Regions from separate parts of the Homo sapiens genome. Here regions 2 and 3 are each linked to region 1. Evidence: promoter capture Hi-C in human tissues and cell types (Jung and others, 2019). All regions are on one chromosome and are shown on one strand. The core of a region is centred on a gene start or on the middle of the fragment in contact, and the rest is flanking DNA. Distances in the headings are between cores, read along the strand shown. Region 1 holds the start of MIXL1 (Mix paired-like homeobox). Region 2 has its middle 14 kb from the start of LINC01703. Region 3 overlaps LIN9 (lin-9 DREAM MuvB core complex component).

Evidence for each region. The method cuts DNA at HindIII sites, captures the fragments that hold promoters and counts their contacts. A contact is called where the count stands out against the background at its distance.
Region 2: a contact is called between a fragment that was not itself captured here and the fragment with the promoter of MIXL1 in region 1, in 2 of the 25 tissues and cell types used here (IMR-90 fibroblasts and mesenchymal stem cells).
Region 3: a contact is called between a fragment that was not itself captured here and the fragment with the promoter of MIXL1 in region 1, in 3 of the 25 tissues and cell types used here (aorta, lymphoblastoid cells and mesenchymal stem cells).

The regions. Positions count from the first base shown.
Region 1 is chr1:226,221,457-226,226,053 of GRCh38, reverse strand. MIXL1 (Mix paired-like homeobox) reads right to left here and starts at 2,390. Exons shown (of 2, transcript NM_031944.3): 1 at 1,980-2,390; 2 at 1-547. The coding sequence starts at 2,372. The coding sequence ends at 242. LOC124904528 (a long non-coding RNA gene) reads right to left here and starts at 3,915. Exons shown (of 2, transcript XR_007066907.1): 1 at 3,830-3,915; 2 at 3,556-3,715. RefSeq lists a silencer at 1,672-1,966 and an enhancer at 2,012-2,071. The HindIII fragment of the contact is 15,954 bases long and covers 1-4,597 here.
Region 2 is chr1:226,095,106-226,099,702 of GRCh38, reverse strand. No RefSeq gene overlaps it. Among named protein-coding and RNA genes, the nearest start is that of LINC01703, 14 kb to the right of the region's middle. The HindIII fragment of the contact is 4,552 bases long and covers 403-4,597 here.
Region 3 is chr1:226,299,467-226,304,063 of GRCh38, reverse strand. It overlaps LIN9 (lin-9 DREAM MuvB core complex component), which reads left to right. Exons shown (of 15, transcript NM_001366245.2): 2 at 2,859-2,891. Among named protein-coding and RNA genes, the nearest start is that of LIN9, 7.4 kb to the left of the region's middle. The HindIII fragment of the contact is 3,558 bases long and covers 312-3,869 here.

The DNA.
Region 1 (4,597 bases), core at 1,141-3,640:
GGCTTGGAGAGAACACAGGTAAAAACGAATGCGGGAACTCTGGGGTGGGAGTGTGGGCTTAAAACGTCATTGACAAAGTGGCGGGGTACCTTCAAATGTGAGAGGTGCTGTCAAAACCATCATCAAGGTTAACAAGGACATGTCCTTAGCATGGAAGTCAGAAAGGACAGTATGCTGATGTGTCTCTCCCAGGCTGTCAGTCATGGCTCCTCAGAGCTTATCCCGAATTCTCCCAGAATCCTCAAAAGTTACCAAAGGCAGAAAAGATGTGTTCCTCCCATGAGTCCAGCTTTGAACCAATGTCTTCAGAGAGAGGGGAACAGGTTTCAAAATTCTGACCTTGGGAGCTAGAGTCAGAGATGCCCCCTCCAACCCCGTTTGGTTCGGGCAGGCAGTTCACATCTACCTCAAGAGGCAGCTGGGGCTTCAGACATTTCGTTTCAGTTCCAGGAGCACAGTGGTTGAGGATAATCTCCGGCCTAGCCAAAGGTTGGAAGGATTTCCCACTCTGACGCCGAGACTTGGCACGCCTGTTCTGGAACCATACCTGGAAGAGGGGAGAAAATAAAAGCTGCTTTTGGTTGGAGTTTTTTATGCTAACATTATGTTCACAGTTCATACTGGTAAGTTCCAGTTTAACATCCCCTGGCTTCCTCTCCAGAGCCTTGTCTTCAGAAAGCACTTGGGTTGACGATTAGAAGTTCAGAACACCTGGCTTTCCTTGCCTCCCCATTCCCAGATGGAAACATTGGAATAATGCCTAGTTCTATCTACTCTTTAGTTAGAGAAATTTTCATGAAAAATGGGGTCACAAAAATGGAAGCACTTAGAATTCTTAGAAAAAAACTGCATTAAATTATGAAGAAAACCTGTTTTTTAAGGTCTGCACTCCCTTGTCAAACTAATCAAGGAGGTATTTTGCTCATGCCAGCTGTTGAGACTGACAGCTGTATGACCGCCAGGGGTGCAGAGAAAACAAGTCCACTCTCCCAGTGTTTAAATGAGGGCTGCTACTTAAAACTGCGCTTGGACACCGACCACGGGGCTACAGACAGACAAAAAGGCAGGCTTCTCCTTACCAACTCTAAGATTCTGATCTAAATTACTTTAGATAATAAACACGGCCGGGCGCGGTGGCTCACGCCTGTAATCCCAGCACTTTGAGGCGGGTGGATCACCTGAGGTCAGGAGTTCGAAACCAGCCTGACCAACATGGTAAAACCCCGTCTCTACTAAAAATACAAAAATTAGCTGGGCGTGGTGGCTGGCGCCTGTAATCTCAGCTACTCGGGAGGCTGAGGCAGGAGAATCACTTGAACCTGGGAGGCGGAGGTTGCAGTGAGCCCAGATCGCGCCATTGCACTCCAGCCTGGGCAACAAGAGTTAAAACTCCATCTCAAATAAAAACTAAATAAATAAAAATAAACACACCTTGCACTAGATTTTTCAAACTGAAAACAAGCTCCAGGTGCTTCTCGCTTTATCTCAATTCGCTACATCCTTTCAAATCTAATCCCAAAACGTAACACTTGCCAAGAAAGTAGCATGGGGGTAACTTGGCGAGCCAGCCTTCCCCGTTTTCAGCTACCATTCTCACGCTCAAAGCCAGAGGAAAACCCCAACTGCCCCTCATCTGTGTCTTCTTCCCGGATAAAGAAAAAGTGTAAAACTTCTTATCTTCCTGCTGGGAATTACTTTCTGGCCATTTCAGGGGACCGGCTAGCCTCCTAGGAGCCCTTATTATATTTAATAATGAGAGAAATCGTTCAGTGCAGGCCTAAATTATTTCACACAGGCCTCGCAACCACCCTATGCAGCAGGTGCCGATATCACCCCCTATTTCAGTCTAGTACGCAGAGCCTCAGGGGAAGCACCGTGCCTGCAACGTCCCGGGTGTGGCCTCAGGAGCCCGCAGTCCAGACCTAGAGTCCGCAGCGCCTCCGCTCCAGCGCGCACTTGCGAACGCAGCGGGCCCTCACCTGGATCCTGGACTCGGGGAGCAGGGTGAGCGCGGCCAGGCGCTCGCGCAAGTGGATGTCGGGGTACCGGGTCCGGCGGAAGACGAGCTCCAGCAGCTGCAGCTGTTCGGCGCTGAAAGACGTGCGCTTGCGGCGCTGCGACGCCGACGGGGCGGCCGCGCCTTTGGGGGGCGCAGGCGAGCCCAGGCTGGCGGGGGGCGGCGGGGCCGGCCCGGGGTCCCGGCCGAGGAAGCCCGCAAAGGTCGCTGGGCCGGGGCCCGCGGGCGGCGCAGGGAGCAGGGCTGCCGCAGGGCTCGGGGGCGGCAGGAGCGCCCCGCCGGCGTGGGGGGCCCGGTACGCTGGAAACGCGGCGCCCTCGGCAAACTGGAGCGCACGGGACTCGGCTGTGGCCATCGCTCCGGAACCCAGCGCGCCGCTCGGAGGGGCGCGGGCCGCACTTATACCCTCCCGGGCCAGGGGCTGGGAAGGCGGGGCGGTGCGATCAAAGGTGGGCTCGGGGAGACCCGTGTCTCCTCCGGGTGCGAGCCCGCCCCCGGCCCCGCCAGACGCCGGGGAATAATCGCTTCCGCCGGCTGCGGGATGCAGGAGGGAGGCGTGAACTTGGGTCCCGGCCCCCTCCGTGTTCTTCCCCGCCCACCCGCCCGGACGGCGCAATCCACATCCCCGAAGGACTATTTGCCTGGGAGGGGCAGCCCGGAGGGGCCCGGGTGCGCGGGCCGCAGGCGACAGAACTCTCTTCTCCGGGTCAAATCCCCGTTAAGAGCGGCGGAAGCACCTTGCCTGGCCTGTGCCTTACATGGCCTGGGCCTTGAGCCTTGCCCTAGTCCCGTCTGTCCTCATCAAAGCTATTTATTTACCACCCCTGCTATGTGCTAGACCCTGTACCAGGTTGGTCAAACAGCCCGGCCCCTGTCTTCTGCAAGCCTCCCTAACACATCCTGAATCCAAGCGGGGAGGGGGGTGAAGATAAAGGATCCAGGGGGCAGCACATTCCTCCTGATTAAATGGGTGGGGGGAGTGGGGGGGTCTGGCTGGAATGTCCATGGGCCCACCAATAAAGATACCCTAGGTAGGGCGGGGTTGGCAACGTGCCCCATTAGCAGAGGATACGGCGCAGTTTGGCCTTTCTGGAGATACTCAACAATGCTTAAGACCCGTCTATTGGATGGGAGGAGATGAAAGCCACCTCATGAAGTTTCCACGCGCCCTGAATCATCATTCTTTCCTCTGCCCCTTGGGGCTCTGAAAGCTCCCATTTTCTCTACTTTGTGCTATGGTTATGGTTTCTCTATCTGCTAGATATAAAGTCTTAGCAAGCAGGAACCCACCTCTCCCTTTCTGAGTTTATTGAGTGTCTGCTTTGTACACCTATTCTGCGTGAGGCGCGGTGCTAGGCCCCTTAGTGAATGTCTGTCGAATTGGATGTCACTGAGCTCTCCTTATTGAAAGAGAAACCCATGGTCCACTATGGGAACTGCCCCACCACAGTGCAAGAACTCAAGAGAGGAACACAGAGGCCCAGGTCTTTTTGCCCCCAGCACCTGAGCGCTGATTTCACCGGGATCACTCACTGTGGTCGACTCAAAGGGAGATCTTTATTGGGAGGATCTTTCAGGGCACAATCCCCGTCCTGTCTCTGCATTCTAGAAGGTCAAAAGACAGTCTCAGAAGAGCTTGGATCTTTTTATCCTGGGTGGACATTCCAGGTGGCAAAGCGGAAAGTTTTCTTGGAGCTGCTGCAGAGAAGAATTTTGGGCTTGATTCTCTCCTGGCTGTGGTAAGGGGTGGGGTTGGCAGGGACTGTGTCCTGTGTAGCCCCTGAGGCCCTTCTGGGCAGCTGATATACTTACCTCCTGCTCTTCCATCTTCCTTCCACCCCTTCTCCTTTCTTTCCCCCTCTTCTCTTGGTTGCAGTGAGCCAAGATTGTGCCATTGCACTCCAGCCTGGGCAACAAGAGTGAAACTCTGACTCAGAAAAAAAAAAAAAAGTTAATTCCCCAGCATCTCCAAAACAGCCAACATCCATTGGCCAGGTGCAGTGGCTCATGCCTGTAATCCCAGCACTTTGGGAGGCTGAGGCGGGCGGATCACCAGGTCAGGAGATCGAGACTATCCTGGCTAACACGGTGAAACCCCGTCTCTACTAAAAATACAAAAAAAAAAATTAGCCGAGCATGGTGGTGGGCACCTGTAGTCCCAGCTACTCAGGAGGCTGAGGCAGGAGAATGGCGTGAACCTGGGAGGTGGAGCTTGCAGTGAGCTGAGATCATGCCACTGCACTCCAGCCTGGGTGACAGAGCGAGACTTCGTCTCAAAATAAATAAATAAATAAATAAATAAATAAATAAATAAATAAACAATTATTAGCCGGGCGTGGTGGCACAAGCCTGTAATCCCAGCTACTCAGGAGGCTGAGGCAGGAGAATTGCTTGAACCCGGGAGGCAGAGGTTGCAGTGAGCCAAGATCGCGCCACTGCACTCCAGCCTGGGTGACTGACTGAGACTCCATCTCAAAAAAAAAAAAAAGAAAAGAAAAAGAAAAAAGAAATTACTTCTCCATGCGAGTGGATTTCCCATTTCACTTGGGATTTTCATTGACTAGGGTTGGAAAGATAGAA
Region 2 (4,597 bases), core at 1,429-3,928, 130 kb after region 1:
GCCACCACAGCTGGCTAGTTTTAAAACTTTTTATAGAGATGGGGTTTCCCTGTGTTGCCCAGGCTGGTCTGGAACCCCTGGGCTTAAGCAATCCTCCCACCTCACCTCCCAAAGTGCTGGGGTTATAGGCATGAGCCACCATGACTGGCTTGTATGTGGAAATTTTAACCCCCAATTTTTTTTTAACTTTCATTCTCAAAGGAGGTGATTAATCCCCAAATGATGGTATTATGAGGTGGGCCCTTTGAGAAGTGATGAGATGAGGGTGAAGTCCTCATGACTGGGATTAGTGACCTTATAAGAAAGGCCCAGAGAGCTCACTAGTTCCTTTCTCTCTTTGAGGACACAGCAAGAAAACACTGGCTGGCTGGCACAGTGGCTTACACTTGTAATCCCAGCACTTTGGGAGTCTGGGGTGGGAAGGTTGCTTGAGGCCAGGAGTTCCAGACCAGCCTGGGCAACATAAGCAAGATCCCGCCGTCTCTATAAAAAGTTAAAAAAATTAGCCAGGCATGGTAGCACATGCCTATAGTTCCAGCTTCTTTGGAGGCTGAAGTGGTAGGATTGCCTGAGCCCAGGAGTTCAAGGCTGCAGTGAGCCCTGACTGCACTACAGCACTCCAACTTGGGTGATACAGCAAAACCCTATCTCCAGAAAAAAAAAGTTATCTAAAGAGAGTTTGATAGACCTAGCTCATCTCATCCTTCCCACCAGGCCCCACCTCATAGGCCACTGCCCAGGCAACAGAGTGGCCGTGTGGATCCACCTCACTGTGGCTGGGATAGGGAATGGGATCACATGGTCTGCCTGGGGCTGCCCCTTCAGTGGGGAGCTGTGGGCTGGGCATTTCATCTGTAGGAGACTGTGAGGTGAGAGGAAGCAGAGGATATTCTGTGGGAAGAATCTTCATGGACCAGGTGATAAGTGAGCTAGATTTGGAAGAATGGGTGGGATTCTAGTGAGCAGAGAGGGGTAGAACATTCCCGGAGGGGTAAAGGAAATAAAGTATATATTACAGAGCAGGGGGAGCCTCGTGTGGTTGGAGCTGGGAGGTATGGGGAGATGGGGAGGGCAGGGGGAGGGGAGGGGAGAAAGAGTGGAGAGAAATCAGGCAGCGTTGTGCTGAGGCCAGAATGGGTAGGGGCTATATTTTGGGTAAGCTGGGGGAAAGTGGAACTGATGTTCTCTGAGCTGTGCTCTAGGAATCAGAGAGCAGATGGAGGCTGGAGGTAACTGGGAAGGAGCCCACACCTTTCTGGGCATCCTTTGTCATCCATCTTCCTATGTCCAGGCAGGAGCCAACCTGCTCTCCAACCTGGCTTGCACTTGGCTGAACAGACAGTCACTGCCCACTGAGTACCCGTGGGCTCTTCTACCTTTCCAGAACCCTGGCTGCTGGCCAGTGGGCTAGTGCTGGCCAATTGGCTATAATCGGAAGTGTGACCTATATGTGAAAGCAAACAGAGTCTTGGGACCCCAAACTCACTATGCCAAAGGGAAAGTTAAGTTTGGGAACTGAGTCACAGAAAAACTGCCTTCCTTTTGTTCCCAAACAGATAGCGGTAGTTTCACAATCCTGTGTCATAGCCTCATTCGTAAGCCAGGTTCCCACAACAATAGAAGGCTACATATTTCCCAAATTGTTCACAAGGAAATTCCCTGTGGGCCCCTAAACCTTTCAGAATACACATTCCCCTATAAGCTAGTTCTAAAATCAAGTTCTGTTAAACTTCACCCTGACAATGTCAATTATCAGCTTATCTTCACAGGGACAGGATAAGGACAAGACTAGAAATCATCCCTCCTCCTACCCCAAGACTTTGCATAATTGACTTGGTCCTCTGTTTCACATGTAAAAGGTACATTCACTAAGGCTAATAGGAACCTAAGATTGTATCCATTTGCCTCATTGTCTACCCTTCTAGGAGCGCAGTGGAGCGATCTCGGCTTACTGCAACCTCCACCTCCTGGGTTCAAGTGATTCTCATGCCTCAGCCTCACAAATAGCTGGGATTACAGGCATGCATCACCATGCCTGGCTAATTTTTGTATTTGTAGTAGAGACAGGTTTGCACCATGTTGGCCAGGCTGGTCTCGAACTCCTTGCCTCAGGTGCTCCACCTGCCTGGATCTCCCAAAGTGCTGGGATTACAGGCGTGAGCCACCACGCCCAGCCCCCTTACCCCGTTTTTTTTTTTTTTTTTTTCCTCTTCTGCTTGCTCTTTCCCCTTCAAATACTGAAGTTCCTGAAACCTTCCTTGGAAAAATCACAGGTTGTAGATGCTTCTGTGACTTGTTTTTGTTTTGTTGGTTTTTTTGCATCCTCAATCATGGTTAAATAAGCTTCTAATCAATTGAGACCTGCCTCAGTCACTTTTTGGTTTACATGTGTCACTACTGGATCAAAAGGTGTAAGTTCTCCATGCCCTCTCTTCCCATGCCATGGTGACTGGTGATTGTCTAGATGGTGGCTCTTCTAGCAACCTGGATCCCTGAGACCCTAGGTGGAACAGAGCCCTGCCCTTCCATCCTCTTTTCTCCACTGCACTGAGCGTATAACATGATTGAGAAATATACTTTGTTGTGTGAAGTCATTGAAGTTTGGGGCTGATTTACTGCGGTAGAACCTAGCCTCACCTGACTAATAGACCAGCTGAGGGAGCTCCTTGCTCAGCGGCATGGGTTCCCCCGACACCCCCACCCCACACAGAGGTAGGCTGGGGTTGAGCAGAGCAGGGGAGGACAGCAGGACTTTGACCCCTGGAGGATTTGGCTTGGATTTCCCTCTCTTTTTTTTTTAATTTAAAAAAATGTATTTATTTATTTACTTAGAGACAGGGTCTTGCTGTGTTGCCCAGGCTGGAGTGCAATGATGCAACCTTAGCTTACTGCAGCCTCGGACTCCTGGGCTCAAGTAATCCTCCCACCTCCGCCTCCTGAGTAGGTAGGACTACAGGAACACACCACCACATCTGACTAATTTTTTTTTTTTTTTTTTTTGTAGAGATAGGTTTGCTATGTTCCCTAGGCTGGTCTCAAACTTCTGGCCTCAAGCAATCCTCCAGCCTCAGCCTTCCAAACTGCTGGGATGACAGGTGTGAACCACCACCCCTGGCTCAGACCTCTCAAAGGGCTCACTGCCTCCAGGGGGACCACAGCTGGGCTGAGCCTGCATTGCCTGAGCGCATACACCTCCACTGTAGAGGGAGAGGGCACCTGCCAGTGGAGGTCAGCCGCAGGCAACACAAGGTGGATTGTGTCTGAATCACCAGTAGCTCTATACAGCAAGGACCCTGTCCTTGAAGCACTGAGGCTGGAGACCAGACTGGGTCCTCAAGGCAACAGCTTCAGTCACCTCCTCCAGCCTTTCCTCCGAGGGGAGCTCTGAGCAAGACAAGCTTGATCATGTTACTTCCCTACTTAAAAACCTAGGATAGGGGCCAAGCAAAGTGGCTCATACCTGTAATCCCAGCACTTTGGGAGGCCGCGGCGGGGGCGAGCGGATCACTTGAGGTCAGGAGCTCAAGACCAGCCTGGCCAACATGATGAAACCTCATCTCCACTAAAAATACAAAAATTAGCTGGGCGTGGTGGTGTGCACCTGTAGTCCCAGCTACTCAGGAGGCTGAGGCAGGAGAATTGCTTGAACCCAGGAGGCAGAGGTTGCAGTGAGCTGAGAGGGTGCCATTGCACTCCAGCCTGGACGACAGAGCTAGACTCTGTCTCAAACAAACAAACAAACACACACCACCTCCAATAGGCCAGGCTGCTCATGCCTGTAATCCCAGCACTTTGGGGAGCTGAGGCAGGAGGACTCTTGAGTCTAGGAGTTGGAAACTAAACAGGGCAACATAGAGAGACCCTGTCTCTGATTAAACAAACAAACAAAACCCATAAAAATTAGGATAAGGTCCACATACCCTGGTCAAGCTTCAAGGTTGTTTGCAACCTGGCCCCAGGAAAGCAAAGTCCTGAAGAGTGGCTGCGGCAGACTGGCTCCTTCACCATTGCTCTGCTACAGCCACTACCAAGAGTTTTGTCTTCCCCAACTCCCTGATAGGTTCATGCACCTGGACAGTGGCATAAGCCATTCCCCACACCTAGAATGCCCTCACATGTCTCCTGCCCCTTTGCCTCTCTGGCCTGCTTTCGCTCCCTCCACCCTCTAGGACTCCCTCCAGCTCCTTATGGCCTGGAGGTCCCTGCCCACAGTCCCTGCTGCCTCTCTGAGGTGCAGACAAGGGATCATCATCGTCCCCTTCCCAAACTCTGTGCCAGGCATGATGCTGGGTGCTGTATACAGAAGTGAGCAAAGTGAACACAGTCCTTGCCCTCCTGGAGCTGATGGTCTTGGGGGCAAATAATCAGACAAATAAATCTAGAAATCTCACACTGAAGGAAAAACAGGGTGGAAGGGATCTATTCTAGAGGTGAGTGGGGGTTGCTAGGGAAGATCTCTTCAAGGAGGTGGGGTTTTGTTTTTCTTGTGGTTTTTTAGAGATGGGGTCTCCTTCTGTTGCTCAGGCTGGAGTGCAGTGGCATGATCACGGCTCACTGCAGCCTCCAATTCCTGGGCTCAAGTGATCCTCCCACATCA
Region 3 (4,597 bases), core at 841-3,340, 78 kb before region 1:
TTTACACATGAAGAAACAATAGCACAGAGAGGCAAAGTAACTTGCTTAAGGTAGCATGCAAGAAAGTGTCAGGACCAAGATTCAAACATAGCTAGTCTCAATCTAGAACCTGTTTTCTTAACCACTATGCTATCCTGCATCTAGAAAAAGGAAAGAAGGACCGGTTGCGGTGGCTCACGCCTATAATCCCAGCACTTTGGGAGGCCGAGCCGGGTGGTCACCTGAGGTCAGGAGTTCGAGACCAGCCTGGCCAACATGGCGAAACCCTGTCTCTACTAAAAATACAAAAATTAGCTGCGTATGGTGGCATGCACCTGTAATCCTAGCTACCTGGAAGGCTGAGGTGGGGAGAATTTCTTGAACCCGGGAGGTGGAGGTTGCAGTGAGCTGAGATTGCGCCACCGCACTCCAACCTGGGTGACAGAGTGAGACTCCATTTCAAAAAAAGAAAAAGAAAAAAGAAAACGAAAAAGAAAAAAAAGGTTAAAGGTGATTGGTCAGAATCCCCAAGATATGGTTCCTGCCTTCGTGGAGCAGGAGTGGATATTCTTATGGCCTATATACCTCTTCCTTCAGATCTCTGCTTAAGCATCACCTTTCATAGAAGCTCATCATGAACACCTTATATACAAATAGTTTTCCTTCCCTCCATCCCCACCCTGCGTATTCTTCTTCTTCTGCTTTATTTTTTCCAGAGTGCTTATCATTACTCGATAGCTGTTTTTGTTTGCCTCCCATCACTAGAATGTACATTCCATGAGAGCAGGGACTTTGACTATTTTGCTTGCTGTTGTATTCCCATTGCCTAGAGCAGGTAGGGACTGGCATGCCATCAGTACTCTACATATTCAGTGAGTGAATGGTTACTACTTTTTCTCAAATGCACTGCATATCTTTTGGTACACAGATGTGTGTATTGTCTACTATTGCTGCTTTACAGTTGTGTTTCATTGTTTGAGACTTTTTAGCAAGATTTTATGTCATTCACCCCCATGACTTTACTGCCTTTTGTCATTAAGCTTCATTTGCCATGCAGAAGCTTTTATGGTGTCCTGTTAACTATTCTTCACATCTGGGCAAGAGAGTAGAGTGAAAGTAAGTGTCTTTAATGCTAATAGGTGTCTGTTTCACAAGTCTCTTACACAGACCTGTGGAGGAAAAAGTCAGTTGAGGTTTAGTGATCAGAGATGCATAGTGTTTAAGGATCTGAGATGAAGTGTTTCATAACTGCCATACTTTATCTGTTGCTTCTCATTTTAAGTCTGTTATCCATTTATATGAGATGTAAATCATAGCTGCTTTTGTTAAATAGCAAGGAGGATTAATCCGTCCTCTCTGATTTTTGTTCCTAGTTCATGTTCTTTTTTATTTAATCCCCTGAGATCATCCTTAATTATTATTTTTCAGATGACTTGGACTTTGCAATGTATACATCCAATTCTGAGATTTTTAAATTTAGTGCTTTCTCACTCTCAAAAAGCTTCTTTCTCTATTGGTTTGTTTTTTTTTTTTTTTTGGACATGGAGTCTCACTCTGTCACCCAGGCTGGATGGAGTGCAGTGGCGCAATCTTTGCTCACTGCAAGCTCTGCCTTGTGGGCTCACGCCATTCTCCCACCTCAGCCTCCCGAGTAGCTGGGACTACAGGTGCTCGCCACCACACCCAGTTAATTTTTTGTGTTTTTAGTAGAGACGGGTTTTCACCGTGTTAGCCAAGATGGTCTTGATCTCCTGACCTTGTGATCCGCCCACCTCGGCCTCCCAAAGTGCTGGGATTACAGGCGTGAGCCACCGCACCCGGCCTCTCTATTGATTTTTCTACTTTCCCTACCCATAGATCCTATAATTCATTCACACCAGAACCTGTAGCCTGATGTTTCTCAAAGTGGGTTACCTGCAACAGAATCCCCTGTTGTTTATTAATAATATAGATTCAGTCTAGATTTTGCATGTATGAGGAGCTTCCTTGTTATTCTAATGTCTTTTTTATTTTTTTGAGGCAGAGTCGTACTCTGTCTGTCAGGCTGAAGTGCAGTGGCACGGTCACAGCTCACTGCCGCCTCAACCTCCCAGGCTCCAGCAGGCCTCTCACATCAGCCCCCTGAGTAGCTGACACTTTAGGCACGTGCCCCCATACCCAGTGAATTAAAAACATTTTTTTAGAGACAGGATCTCCTTATGTTGCCCAGGCTGGTCTCAGACTCCTGGCCTCAAGCTAGCCTTCCCACCTTGGCCTTCCAAAGCACTGGGATTACAGGTGTCAGCCATCATACCTGGCCTCTAATGTACACTGGAGTTTGTTTTATCCAGTGGACCCCTCCAACTTTATTCTAGCCCCTCTTGGCCATTCTGTATTCCCTTTTCCAGCTTAGATCTTGAAGTATCACATATACCTGCATTCTAGACTTTCAAGGGACTTATTGCTTGCTCTGACAGTCCCTGAATCATTTCCATTGCCTGTTTTTTTCCACTCCATTACTACATCAGTCTTTGCCTCAATGGATGTCGGTTCCCTTTCTCTTTTCTTCCAGCACCACAGCACGCCTGGATGAGGATCCAAAATTACCTCTGTCCCCACTCTTCCTCTTTCTTCTGTTTCTTCACTTTCTTCTCCTGGAATGGTCTCCAGTTCTCACAACTTCAGCAAGACTCTCATATGTCTCTCTCCAGTTCTTTCTTTATCTGAGTTCTGGTTTATAGTTTGAATTGTCTGCCAGATATTTCGAATTGCACATTCCACCATCTCTTCAAACTCAACATTACTAAAACTAAATGGATCACTTTTACCCCCAAACCAAGGTCTTTTTCTCTCACTTTGGTTATGAAATAATTATTGATTTGTTTTATTTTTAATTGCAGGCTCTTCAGCAAAAGCCCTTGTCAGTTTAAAAGGTAAGAAGTATAGCATTTTTAGGTATACCATAGCTAAAAGTCTAATTTGTTAAATTAATCTGGATATAGTGTTTCCATTTTCCTTCTAAGTTATGATTCATTGTAGCTTTTCAGTATTGGTTTTCACTGATAACCTTAAATTAATATGCTTTTATAGGAGAATTGATCCTCAGTTGTTAGAAATTATTTTTAAAAATTTCTAAAATTATTGATTAAAAACCTTTCTAATTAAACATTCCATAAATATTTAGATTAAAAGCATTTGTTAAACGACTGTGCTGACCTATATGTTAGCATAATTGTTTGTTTGTTTGTTTTTGAGACAGTCTCTCTCTGTTGCCCAGGCTGGAGTACAACGGTGCAATCTTGGCTCACTGCAACCTCTGCGTCCCAGGCTCAAGCGATTCTCCTGCCTCAGCCCCCTGAGTAGCTGGGATTACAGGCATGTGCCACCATGCCTGGCTAATTTTTGTAATTTCAGTAGAGACGGGATTTCACCATGTTGGCCAGGCTGGCCTCAAACTCCTGGCCTCAAGTGATCTGCCCACCTTGGCCTCCCAAAGTGCTGGGATTACAGGCGTGAGCCACTGTGCCCAGCAGATTTTTTGTTTATTTATTTTTTGAGACAGGGTCTCGCTTTGTCACACAGGCTAGAGTGTGGTGATGTGATTACAGTTCACTGTAGCCTCGACCTCCTGGGCTCAAGTGATCCTCTTGCCTCAGCTTCCCATGTAGCTGGGACCACAGGCACATGCTACCATGCCCAGCTAATTTCTTTATTTTTTGTAGAGAGGAGGCCTCACTTTGTTGCCCAGGCTGGTCTCGAACTCCTGGGCTCAAGGGATCCTGCTGCCTCAGCTTTGCAAAGTGCTGAGATTACAGGCATGAGCCACCACACCTGGCCCGTAATAGCTTATTTTTAAGAGTCTTGCTTTCACTGGGCACGGTGGCTCACGCCTGTAATCCCGGCACTTTGGGAGGCTGAGGCAGGCGGACCACTTGAGCTCAGGAGTTCGTGATTAGCCTGGCTAACAAGGTGAAACCCCATCTCTACTAAAAATACAAAATTATCCGGGAGTGGTGGCAGGTGCCTATAATCCCAGCTACTTGAGAGGCTGAGGCAGGAGAATTGTTTGAACCTGGGAGGCAGAGATTGCCGTAAGCCAAGATCGCGCCACCACACTCCAGTCTGGGAGTCTGGGTGACAGAGTAAGACTCTGTCTCAAATTCCAAAAAAAAAAAAAAAGAATCTTGCTTTCTAAGTAATAATGTCTTGAAATAAAAATAAAAGAATAATAGTACTTTTCTCATTCTAAGAAAAAGTTTGACATGTTCCTTGGTCTCACTATTTCTTTTGGCAGGTACATTAGACTAACCTTTTTAACATAGTTTCTTTAAAATTTTACCTCTTGATTAAGATTCTGGTAGGTCAATAAATTTGGAACCAAGCTAAATATTCTCAAAGTACTTTTAGTCTTTAAAGCTACTATATTGTGCTTTGGATTGGTGATTTACCAAATTAAATCCTTCTAGCTTGAGAAGACAATTTGTCTTCCAGAACACCCCAGTTTGTTTGTCTTTTGTGATTCTTAAAAATTATTCCATTATTCTTTTTCTCCCAATATTAAACTCATTTCTCTCCCCCCTGCCTTTTTTTTTTTTTTTTTTGAGACTGAGTCTCGGTTTGTCGCCCAGGCTGGAGTGCA